3 separate regions of the Homo sapiens genome follow, and all the other regions are linked to region 3. Evidence: promoter capture Hi-C in 16 types of primary human blood cells and fetal thymus (Javierre and others, 2016). All regions are on one chromosome and are shown on one strand. Each heading gives the region's core, a stretch centred on a gene start or on the middle of the fragment in contact. The rest is flanking DNA. Distances are from core to core; before and after follow the strand shown. Region 1 overlaps ADD3-AS1 (ADD3 antisense RNA 1). Region 2 overlaps DUSP5-DT (DUSP5 divergent transcript). Region 3 holds the start of MXI1 (MAX interactor 1, dimerization protein).

Region 1 (3,323 bases), core at 198-2,697, 260 kb after region 3:
ACTTACTAAAATAGAAGAAATGCATAGAATAAAATAGAATAAATGGATTTTGCTCAACCCACCCTTTTTAGAGTTTTGTTTGTTTGTTTGTTTGTTTTAAACAACTATCTGTCTTTATGCAATCATGTCCCTGGGGACTCACCCCAACCCCATATGGCTTATCAAAGTGTTCATTAAAAATGTACCCTTCTCTTTCTGAGTTTTGTTAGCCTAAATTTTCCAATTTTCTTTGCATTTTTGGTGACATTTAAATTATCCTAATGAGGTTTCACTACTGCTTATAGATTGGCATTCCAGGCAGGTCTACCAGCTTCCTCCTAATATAGGATTGCTCAACTCTTTCTCTACATTTTAGGAGAAAAACTGAGAAGATTTCTTCTTTATTTCCAGTGGAATGTCTTTTGTCCTTCTCTGATGTCTTGGCATCAACTTATGTTTGTTATTGAAGGATTTCCTGAGCAGCTTATCATGGTACTTTCATATACAAAGATAATTCTTTCCCTAAAATAAATTTAGGTTCTAGCTGGTAATATCATAAAAGCTTTTTTTTTTTTTTAACCTTGTTTCATATGTACTTGATAGAATGCAGTCATTTTAGCCCTGGAACTAAATTAACTTTCAACTCCAGCGGGGTTGTCATGTACAGTTGTATAGGTTGTACACTAAGCCACCCTAGGGAGCACCTTTTACCTATAGTCTATGTCACTGGTAATTTCTTTTTTTTCTTTTTTTGAGATGGAGTCTCACTCTGTCACCCAGGCTGGAGTGCAGTGGTGCAGTTTCGGCTCACTGCAACCTCCGCCTCCCAGGTTCAAGCCATTCTCCTGCCTCAGCCTCCCGAGTAGCTGGGATTACAGGTATGTGCCACCACGCCCGGCTAATTTTATTTTGTATTTTTTTTTTTTTAGTAGAGGTGGGATTTCACCATATTGGCCAGGCTGTTCTCGAACTCCTGACCTTGTGATCCACCCACCTTGACCTCCCAAAGTGCTGGGATTACAGGTGTGAGCCACTGCACCTGGCTGTCACTGGTAATTTCTATAGTTGTGTAGTCCACAACCTGTACAACCATATGTTGTATAGTCCTGTCTCAAGGACCACCCACCATCCAACTAACTATTAATCTCAATGGCCAAATTCCAAATTTCTGGAGGAAAACATTTGGTGGTCCATTTTGGGCCAGTTGTCCTCTCTTCTCCAATCAGATATGCTCAGATTGGAAACATCATGTTGTAGGCACATATGTCCAGAGCCTCAATGCCTTTGGAGAGCCCATCTGGGGGAAATGGGAAACTGTTCTCAGAGAAGGGGTTGTATGAGAAAGGCAGACATTTCAAAACACGGCATTACCAAGGGCCAGTGATTAAAAAAATGAATAGTCCAAAGGTATATCGAATATAATCTAAGCTGATGTTTTTCAAACTATGAGGTATGACCCATTAATGGGCTATGAAATCAATGTAGTGAGTCATATTTCTAAATAACATAGAAATGAAATAAAAGAGATTAGAGATTAGGAAATATTAGCATGCAACCTACCTAGTAAAGGTAAACTAGTATATAAAGTGTGGATTGTGGTGCAACATGATCAAAAACCAAACCAAAGCCCAAACCATTTCACTCCTATCTGCCTGCCCACAGATTTGATGCAGGTGCCCTAGGGACATTTATCTGAGAGGATCTTTCTAGGCCTTGTCTCCCTCACTACTCCTGTGATCTTGCCTTATTTTCCTTGCTGAAACTTTGTTTTGAATCTGATTCCTGCTCCCCATTCATTCAGGTCTCAGACTTTCTTTCTCTCAGCTCCATGTCCAGGCCCAACTCTGGGAAGTTCAGCCTGGTTTGACTCCCCAGCGTCCCAGGAAGTGAAAGTTGAAAAAATTATAGCACTGTGAGTTGCCAAGCCCAGCCTTCCTTTGCCTCACTTGCTAGGAAATCGAACCCTTCCTTGGTTCCTGAGCCCACCCTTATCTTGGCAGATGGTTGGTTGGAGTCTCCAGCCTGCAGAAGTAGGACCTCAATTTAGTTGTGCTCATCTGAGCCCAGTATCCCAATGGCATGGCTTATGTCCCAGAGGCTTGCTTGCTTCCTGAACTACAGCCTATGGCTACCTTTGCCTAATTGAAACAATTGAACTTTTGCTTACATTTTCTGCTCTGTATTCTCTGTGCTATGGTTTTGTAAGCCAAGTTGTCCTGGAGATTGGACAATGTCGTTAACATCTCCCTCTTCCCATTGATAGGCACAGGTTATGTCCCTTGTCTGGATGAACCCATGAGCAGAATCCTGCTGCCTGCCTGTCTTCCAGAACCCCCTCCCACATGTTGCCCATGGAGATCACCTACAAGCTTGCTGGGGACAACAGTTTTGTGCATCAGGCATGTACATGGGACCACCCTCCTCCTACTTCTCACACCCATGGATTCCTTCTCTGGATCTATGGGTTTATTGTCTGTGGCTTCCTATACCTGCTTCCTGTCTCTTGATTTTGATGACTAGTTTGGATGTCCTTCTCTGCATCCATGGCCTTGGTTCTCCTACCTCCTTTCTTTTTTGAACTGGCCAAGCCTTCGAGGGATATCTACAAGTTCTTCTAATAATTCCCCTTATATAGGGTTGCTGGATTTAGCAAATAAGAATACAGGACACCTTGTTAAATTTACATTTCAGCTTAGCAACAAATTTACATTTCAGCTTAGCAATAAATAATATTTGCATGTCCCATGCCATCTATGGGACATACTTCTATTAGGAAATTATTCACTGTTTATCTGAAATTCAGATTTAACTGTGTATCCTGTTTTTTATCTGGCAACCCTACACCTACAGTTCCTTGCTGAGGAAATGGCCTTAAGCTCTTTATGCACAGGTAGGTGGTCATGCTGTGTCCCATAGGACCCCACCCCTACCCCATCCCCAACGTCATAGCTAATTGGATCAGGAGTGAGCACTTGACCCAAGGTCAGCTAGTGCATAGGTTGGCCCATAGTCTAAAAAGTAGCCTGGTGCAAGACCTTTGCACTAGAGGGAAATAGTGTTTAAGTGAACCAAATCAGAGGTTCTCCCTCAGTAGTCAGAGAGTAAGAGAATAATCAGTAAGAGAGAGTGAGAGAATCAGTTGGTAGGAAGAAAAAAGCCAAAAGATACATAGAGAGAAAAAAACAGTAAATACAATTCATGAAGTCGTAGAAGTCCTGAACAAGCTGCTCTATGGGGAGGGAAGAAGGATGGAATCAGGACTTCGTCAGTTGCAACAGGAGCCGCTGAAGTAGAAGGAGAGAGAAAGGAAACAGCGGAGGCATGGTAATGGTAGGATGCCAGGG
Region 2 (3,246 bases), core at 340-2,839, 280 kb before region 3:
CCCTCTACAAGCCCCAGCCCACTCAGAAGGATGCATTTTGCCCCCTCTGTTTATTTGTTTGTTTTTAATTATGAAAGTAGGGCATGGTCATTGTTGAAAATGTGAGAAATGCAGAGAAGTTAAAATGATGCTTTTTGTTTAGGGCGCTGCTGCTTCTGGCTTAAGATCCTAAATCAAAGCAGCTGCCAGATCTGGACCTAAGACTTGCTTCCCATCACCTTACATAAAAGAAAGAGCACTGGACTAGGAATCAAAGATCTGAATTCCCATCAAATCTCTGCTATTACTAGCTTTTATCTCTATTTATTTATTTATCTGTCTATCTATCTAGTACCTTTTGTGAATATGAGTGTTTCTCACCGAGGCCCTCCCATCTCTCTTGCCCCCGATCCTGGAATGGACCAAATACCTTGTTTACTGAAGGATACAGATGGCATGTGACTGTTGAGAATCACTCACCCTCTTAGAGCCATGGTTTCCTCTTCTATAAAATAGGGATGTTCGTGCCTATTTGCTAATCATGAGTGACAATGACATAAGGTACATAAAGCTGTACTGCATGATGCAAACATAACATCATATTTGTAGGGTTGTTGCTAATAATACTATCCATCAGCAAAGCAGTCATTCATTTACTCAGTCAAATACTGATGCACTGGTACATTCAGTTTCCTCTTTTGTAAAATGGGGATAAAAATAGGACTTAGCTCATAGGGTATTTAAGATTCAGTGAGTTAATATATATAAAATACTTAGAGCAGTCCTTGGAACATATTAAGAACTCAATACATATTAGCTAGTTGAGCAGGCTGTAGTATTTGTTCCAGCCAAGAAAAGACTGTTCTCTAACAGCACAGGAAATAAAGATGGGGTTAGGCACGACACGGCAGCAGGACTTACCTTCTGTCTAATTCAGCTGGCAGTCAAAGAAAGAATTATTAGAAGCCTATGAGCTTGTTCTCCCAAAGATCTACTGAGTACAGGGGGATATTTAAAGAATAAAAATCCCTAGACCCACTTACAGTACAGGAGAGACAAGAAGCTGTTCACACAATAACAAGTGCTAAATTCCTTGATTTTTATACTGACAGCTGAAGTTTTAGAGAAGAGAAGGATCAATAAAGACCGGAATATTAAAGCAGACAGGCCTAAAAGAGGATTTTAGATTTGATAAAGAATTCCTCCAGTTCTCAGAGCAGGGACTTTGGAGGGTAACAACTTGGATTTCAGTCCTTGCCTGCCACTTACTGATTGTATGACCTTGGAAAAGTTACTTCACTTCTGTGAGCAATGATTCTCTCATCTGGAAAACAAAACAAAACAAAAAAACTAACAAGGGTGATAATAATACCTACCTCCCTACCTCATAGGGCTGATGAGAAGATTAAAAAGTACCTACATAAAGCCCTTCTCTGCGTGCCTGGAGCATGGCAAGGGCTCCATGTGAACCACTATTTTTTTTTTTTTTTTTTAATGAAAAGTCATGGGCAGCACCAAAGCTCAGAATTTTGGCAGTAAGGAATTATGATTCTACATTGAAATTTGCCAGAAGGGGAGCTGACTGCCTCATGAGACATTTTTGAATGAGGCCAAAAAAGGAAACAAGTGTATCCTGGGATTTTACGAGATGCTAGGTATGTCCTTAGCACTTAATCCTCATGACTACCCTATGATGTAAGTACTATCTGTTGTCCCTATTTTACAGTTGGCCAAGGTCACATAGCTGAAACGGACTTCTGTGTGTCTTCTAACTTTTGCTTTCAGGTCTGGAAAAATGCAATGTAAACCTAGACCCTCTTTGAAATACTGAAGATGGTAATCTTATCCCTTCCTCACTTTCTGTTTTCTAAAATAACAGTCCTTGTTCCTTACAATGTCTGTTTTCCAGATTCTTAGAAGACTTTTTGCTTATTTTCCATAACTCTTTACTTGTGATCCCTGAATGACACCGGGGGTATAGCAGAGAATGTCCATTTCCTCAAAGTTCAAAGGTCCTACAAAAAATAGTTGCTAGCCTGGCATGATGGTGTGTGCCTGTAGCCTCAGCTACCTGGGAGGCTGAGGCAAGAGGATTGCTTGAGCTGAGGAGTTTGAGGCTGCAGCGAGCCATGATCACGCCACTGCTCTCCAGCCTGGATGACAAAGCAAGATCACATCTTAAAATAAAATAAAATAAATTTTAAAAATATATAAAAAATAAAAAGTGGTGCCACTAAGTGTCCTGGACAGCATTAGAGAAAGCAAGAGATAGAAGAGTGCAAACACCTGAAAGGAAAGAGATGCGGGTCTTCCCTCTCCCTTGAGTAGCCACCGGCTATCCCTGGAGCATAGGAGTAGGATTTTATCCCCCAGCTTCGGCCTCCCCAGGCAGCACTTCCTTTCTGTGCTTTGACTCCAATTTGGATGGTGCTCAGGCGGGAAGTAGGCTGGGGTGGGAGGAGTTTAGGGGAATATTTGTCTTCTCTCCTGTTTTGCCCTAGAGATTCTGGCCAGGAAGACAAATGGCTAGTACCACTTGGTCCTTTTCTTTTCTTCTTTTGAGACAGGGTCTTGTTCTGTTGCCCAGGCTGGAGTGCAGTGGCGTGATCGCGGCTCACCGCAGCCTCCCAGGCTCAAGCATTCCTCTCACCTCAGCCTCCTGAGTAGCTGGGACCACAGCTCCACTAATTTTGAAGTTTTTTTGGTAGACATGAAGTCTCCCTGTGTTGCCCGGGCTGGTCTCAAACTCCTGACCTCAAGCAGTCCTCCTGTCTTGGCCTCTGGAAATGCTGGGATTACAGGCGTGAGCCACTGTGCTGGCCTCTTTTTTCTTTTTCTTTTTTTTTAAGGTTTTTATTTGTTAAATGGGAAGTCTGTGCCATCAACTGAGCATTGTATTTTCTCCTTAGTAAGAGCCTGGGTGGGCCACTGGGAGAGAACTATACATTAAATGTAAGTAGCCTCTGGGTAGAGAGCCCCTGGCTGGTTTCCTTTCCTTTCTCTCCTTTTCTCTACTTTGGTGTCTGGAGGCATTTCCCAGACTCCAGTTTCTTACCACCCTCACGGATTTTGCTATTGTATTATCACCTCCTTTATCATTCCCAAAATTGACTTTATGGAGACTCATTAAAAGAAAAAATCATCGGCCGGGAGCGGTGGCTCACGCCACGAAGGCGGGCGAATCACCTGAGGTGCGGAGTTCGTGACCAGCCTGACCAAAACAGAGAAACCCCATCTCTACTAAACAATACAAAATTAGCTGGGCGT
Region 3 (3,449 bases), core at 652-3,151:
TCTGCACAATTGCGCTGCCAACACACGGTTCCTTTAACCCTGAAGACCTGGGGTATCAGTCAGCAATGGTGTTTTTGTGTCTGAGGGTTGTTGTGTTGGGTGGGGGGAAGGTTGCAAGATCTGACACGTTGCAATCGGGACCTTTCTTCTTTCTTTCTCTCTCTCTCACACACACACGCGCACACGTACACACACACACTCGCGCCTCATTGATCTTCCTACTTGTTCGGACACATTAAACATCCCGGTTTCCCCCTATCTGTCGGTCTGTCTGCCTAGTTCCCTTCCTCCTTTTCACAGCTATTATTCTGAGGACGGTGCTGGATACGCTGCACACGCGTGCCCCCGTTAGGGCGCTGAGTCGACTGCCTGGGGAAAGCTGGGTGACCTGGCTGGTAGGGGCAAAAATGAAACAAATAAATACAAAAAAGAAGCCAGGCCAGGGTGGGGTTCCCAGCACACCCCCACCCACGCACTACTATCCACGTGAATCTGGGGGTGGGCGGGTGGGGGGAGTAGAAATCGACCAGGAAGGCGTTTGCCTTGCTTGCCCTGTGCGCTCACTCAAGAGCCGTCTCCCGGAAAATAAAGAAAAAGCACAGAACAGCCCACACCTTCTTCCCCAACTATTGTTTCTCAAAGATCCCAAAGTTTCCTTCTAGCCGCGTCCCCACGGCCAAGTTTCCCGGGCTCAGGACGGCGTGTCCGGGGCGAGCTGCTGGCGTTGCTTGGCCCCGCCGGCCTCCTTCTTTGGGGGGGGGGGGGCGGCGGTGGCACCCCACGGCAACGGACGTGCAGGGGGACTGTGTCCGTAGACGTGATGGCCTGAGCCCAGTCCTGCTGCTAGAGGGAAGGAAAAAGGCGAAGTAGGAGGGAGAGAGAGAGACAGAGCCGAGCCCACGCCGTGGAGAGCTGTTTGGTTGTTATTGTTGTAGTGTGTGTCTGTGTGTTTTCTTTCTGGAACCTCTGAGCTCTGCCTATGGTTTCCAACTTTCGGCTTCTAATCCCCACCCCACCCAGGAACGAGCAACAGAAAAACAACACTTGTCTGCCTGAGAAGGCTCCGGAAAAAAAAAAAAAAAAAAGGAAGAAAAGCGACCTCAAAGAGATGAGCTCTCGGCTCAGTTGTCAGCAAACAACAACACTCCCCCGCTCCTCCGCTGGGCCATCCTCCCAGCCCCAGCCCGCCGGAGAGGACAGACCGACGCACCGACAGGCCCCTCTCCCCCTCGCCCGTCTTTGTTACATCTTTAGCAGCTTTGTGCGTGCGTGTCCTTTCTCCGGTGTCATCGGCTTTACTGCCAAGGGCTGGATGTGTATGTTGGGCGGGGGGGGGACGGGCCGAGCTCGCAACAGGGGTCGCCCAAGTGGGCGAGAAAGAAAGAACCGGGCGCCGAGGAAGAGCAGGGGCCCCCAAACTTACTTTTGTTTTCTTTCTCGATCTGCTCCAGGTAGCTGGCGGCCTCGAGCAGAATCTGCACGTTCTGCAGAAAAGTGTTGATGTGCTTCTCCATCGAGTTCTCGCTGGTGTTGAAAATGTCTGAGAAGGGGCACCTGGGCTTGGCCCCAGCGGGGTCCTCGGGCAGGGCCGGGGGCTGGGGCGCGGCCACGGCGGGGGGCACAGCCGGGGGCGCGGCGGGGGCCAGCCCCGCGCCCTCGCAGCGCGCCTCCTTGCGCGGCCGCCCGCGTTTGCCCATGGAGGAGCGGGGGTCCGCCGAGCTCGTCCTCTAACGGGGCTGCGCGGCCCGGCCGAGCTCCGGGCCCCCAGGGAGACCCGGCCGGCTGGAGCAGAGAAGGCGCCGGGGCGAAAAGCCGGCCTGACTTCCCGAGCCTCGCTGCCTGCAGTTGTGTGTGTGAGTGTATGGGAGTGTGTGTCGGTCTCGCTGTGAGTCTGTGTGTATGGGAGATTGAATGAACCTACAGGACAGACGGAGGCACTCTGGCGCCTGGGTCCTAGTGCGAGCCTGTCGCCATCGGACCGGTCAAAATAAAAGGTGGAGACTAGCGAGCGAGGCAGGGACCGCCCCTGCCCGTCCCCGCAGGCTTCCCTGCCTCTCCCCAAGGCTTACCACAGAGTAGAACACTGTCTTTTAACCGGAATGGAAAAAAATACCTGATGTCTCTGGGTGCACCTGCATAAAAACAAACTACTTTTTTCACAGAAAAATAATGCCTCAGAAAGTGTCCAGCACAATGCCTGGCACATAGTTAGGTCCCCATACATGGTGGCTGCTATGACTTAAAAATAAATAAATAAAAGCTCCCCAATCCAAATGGGAAGAAGGGAACCAGTGTGTAACCAGAAGATCCCCCCACCCCCAACACAAACACTCCTACTCACAGACACACATACATACGTAATCACGCACACACTTGCGAGGCACCTGTGTGTGCCTTCACACAGTCAAATGAAATCCCAGGCCGTCCAAATCCGAGTTACAGATTTACTCATGCCTTTCTCCCTTCAAATGCAAAGTTATTTTCCAGAAGTGGGAGGAGATGTCAGCATCCCTCTCCACACTCCTCTGCCCAGCCTTGGTTCAGCTGTGCAAAGCTCACACCAGGATGCCTCCACACCTGGCTCCCTTTAATTTGAGAGGCAGAAGTGGCAGCTCAGGAACCACCCCCCTCCCCAGCTGAATTCCACCTTTTGCCTCTGAAAACCCCTACCCCAGCTGACATTGTTTCACTGCCACTGCTGTCCGCAATCATGGATGCTTTCCAGCCCTGGGAAGTACTGGAGGTGTCAGGGGATGATTGAAGGCTGCTCTAGGGTGCCATAGGAAAGGGTTCAAATCCCAGCTCTGCTGCATACAGACTGTGTGAGCTTGGACAAGTCCCTTAACCTCTCTTGGCCTAAGTTTCCACATCATTGAAATGTGTGATAAGATGCTTGTGTATTGTATCTGACTTAGCACACTCTGGCCCATGGTAAGCTCTTTTTCTTCCAATCCAGACCCAGGCAAGAGCCTGAGTCCCCTATTCTGATGTAACTTGTATCTAAGAAAGGAACAAGATGTAGTGAACAAGACTCTTCTGCACTTCCTTGGAAAATATCTCTATGACAAGCCCATCTAAATATGGTTACTTTGCAAGGTCACCTGGAGTTTTCCTCCAGGGGAACCATTTATATAGAGGACAAAGACAATGCTGCCCCCTGGAGGTGTGCGATGCAGCCACCCTACTCAAAGGCAGCTTCATACACATTGTCATAAAAACTCTTGATGGCCGGACGCAGTGGCTCACGCCTGTAATCCCAGCACTTTGGGAGGCCAAAGCGGGCAGATCACCTGAGGTTGGGAGTTCGCGACCAGCCTGACCAACATAGAGAAACGCTGTCTCTACCAAAAATACAAAATTAGCCGGGCGTGGTGGCGCATGCCTGTAATCCCAGCTACTCCGGAGGCTGAGGCAGGAGAATGGCGTGAACCCGGGAGGCGGAGCTTGTA

The links. Contacts are between HindIII fragments. The CHiCAGO score rates a contact against its expected background, and 5 or more counts as called.
Region 1: a contact is called between a fragment that was not itself captured here and the fragment with the promoter of MXI1 in region 3, in 2 of 17 cell types (naive B cells and naive CD4 T cells). The highest score is 5.3, in naive B cells.
Region 2: a contact is called between a fragment that was not itself captured here and the fragment with the promoter of MXI1 in region 3, in 3 of 17 cell types (monocytes, neutrophils and total CD4 T cells). The highest score is 5.8, in monocytes.

The regions. Positions count from the first base shown.
Region 1 is chr10:109,949,378-109,952,700 of GRCh38, reverse strand. The region is part of intron 3 of ADD3-AS1 (ADD3 antisense RNA 1); the gene reads left to right. Among named protein-coding and RNA genes, the nearest start is that of XPNPEP1, 28 kb to the right of the region's middle. The HindIII fragment of the contact is 1,807 bases long and covers 544-2,350 here.
Region 2 is chr10:110,489,924-110,493,169 of GRCh38, reverse strand. The region is part of intron 1 of DUSP5-DT (DUSP5 divergent transcript); the gene reads left to right. Among named protein-coding and RNA genes, the nearest start is that of DUSP5-DT, 4.9 kb to the left of the region's middle. The HindIII fragment of the contact is 5,633 bases long and covers 1-3,246 here.
Region 3 is chr10:110,206,057-110,209,505 of GRCh38, reverse strand. MXI1 (MAX interactor 1, dimerization protein) reads right to left here and starts at 1,901. Exons shown (of 6, transcript NM_130439.3): 1 at 1,424-1,901. The coding sequence starts at 1,697. RefSeq lists a silencer at 1,651-1,730 and an enhancer at 3,320-3,449. The HindIII fragment of the contact is 6,685 bases long and covers 1-3,449 here.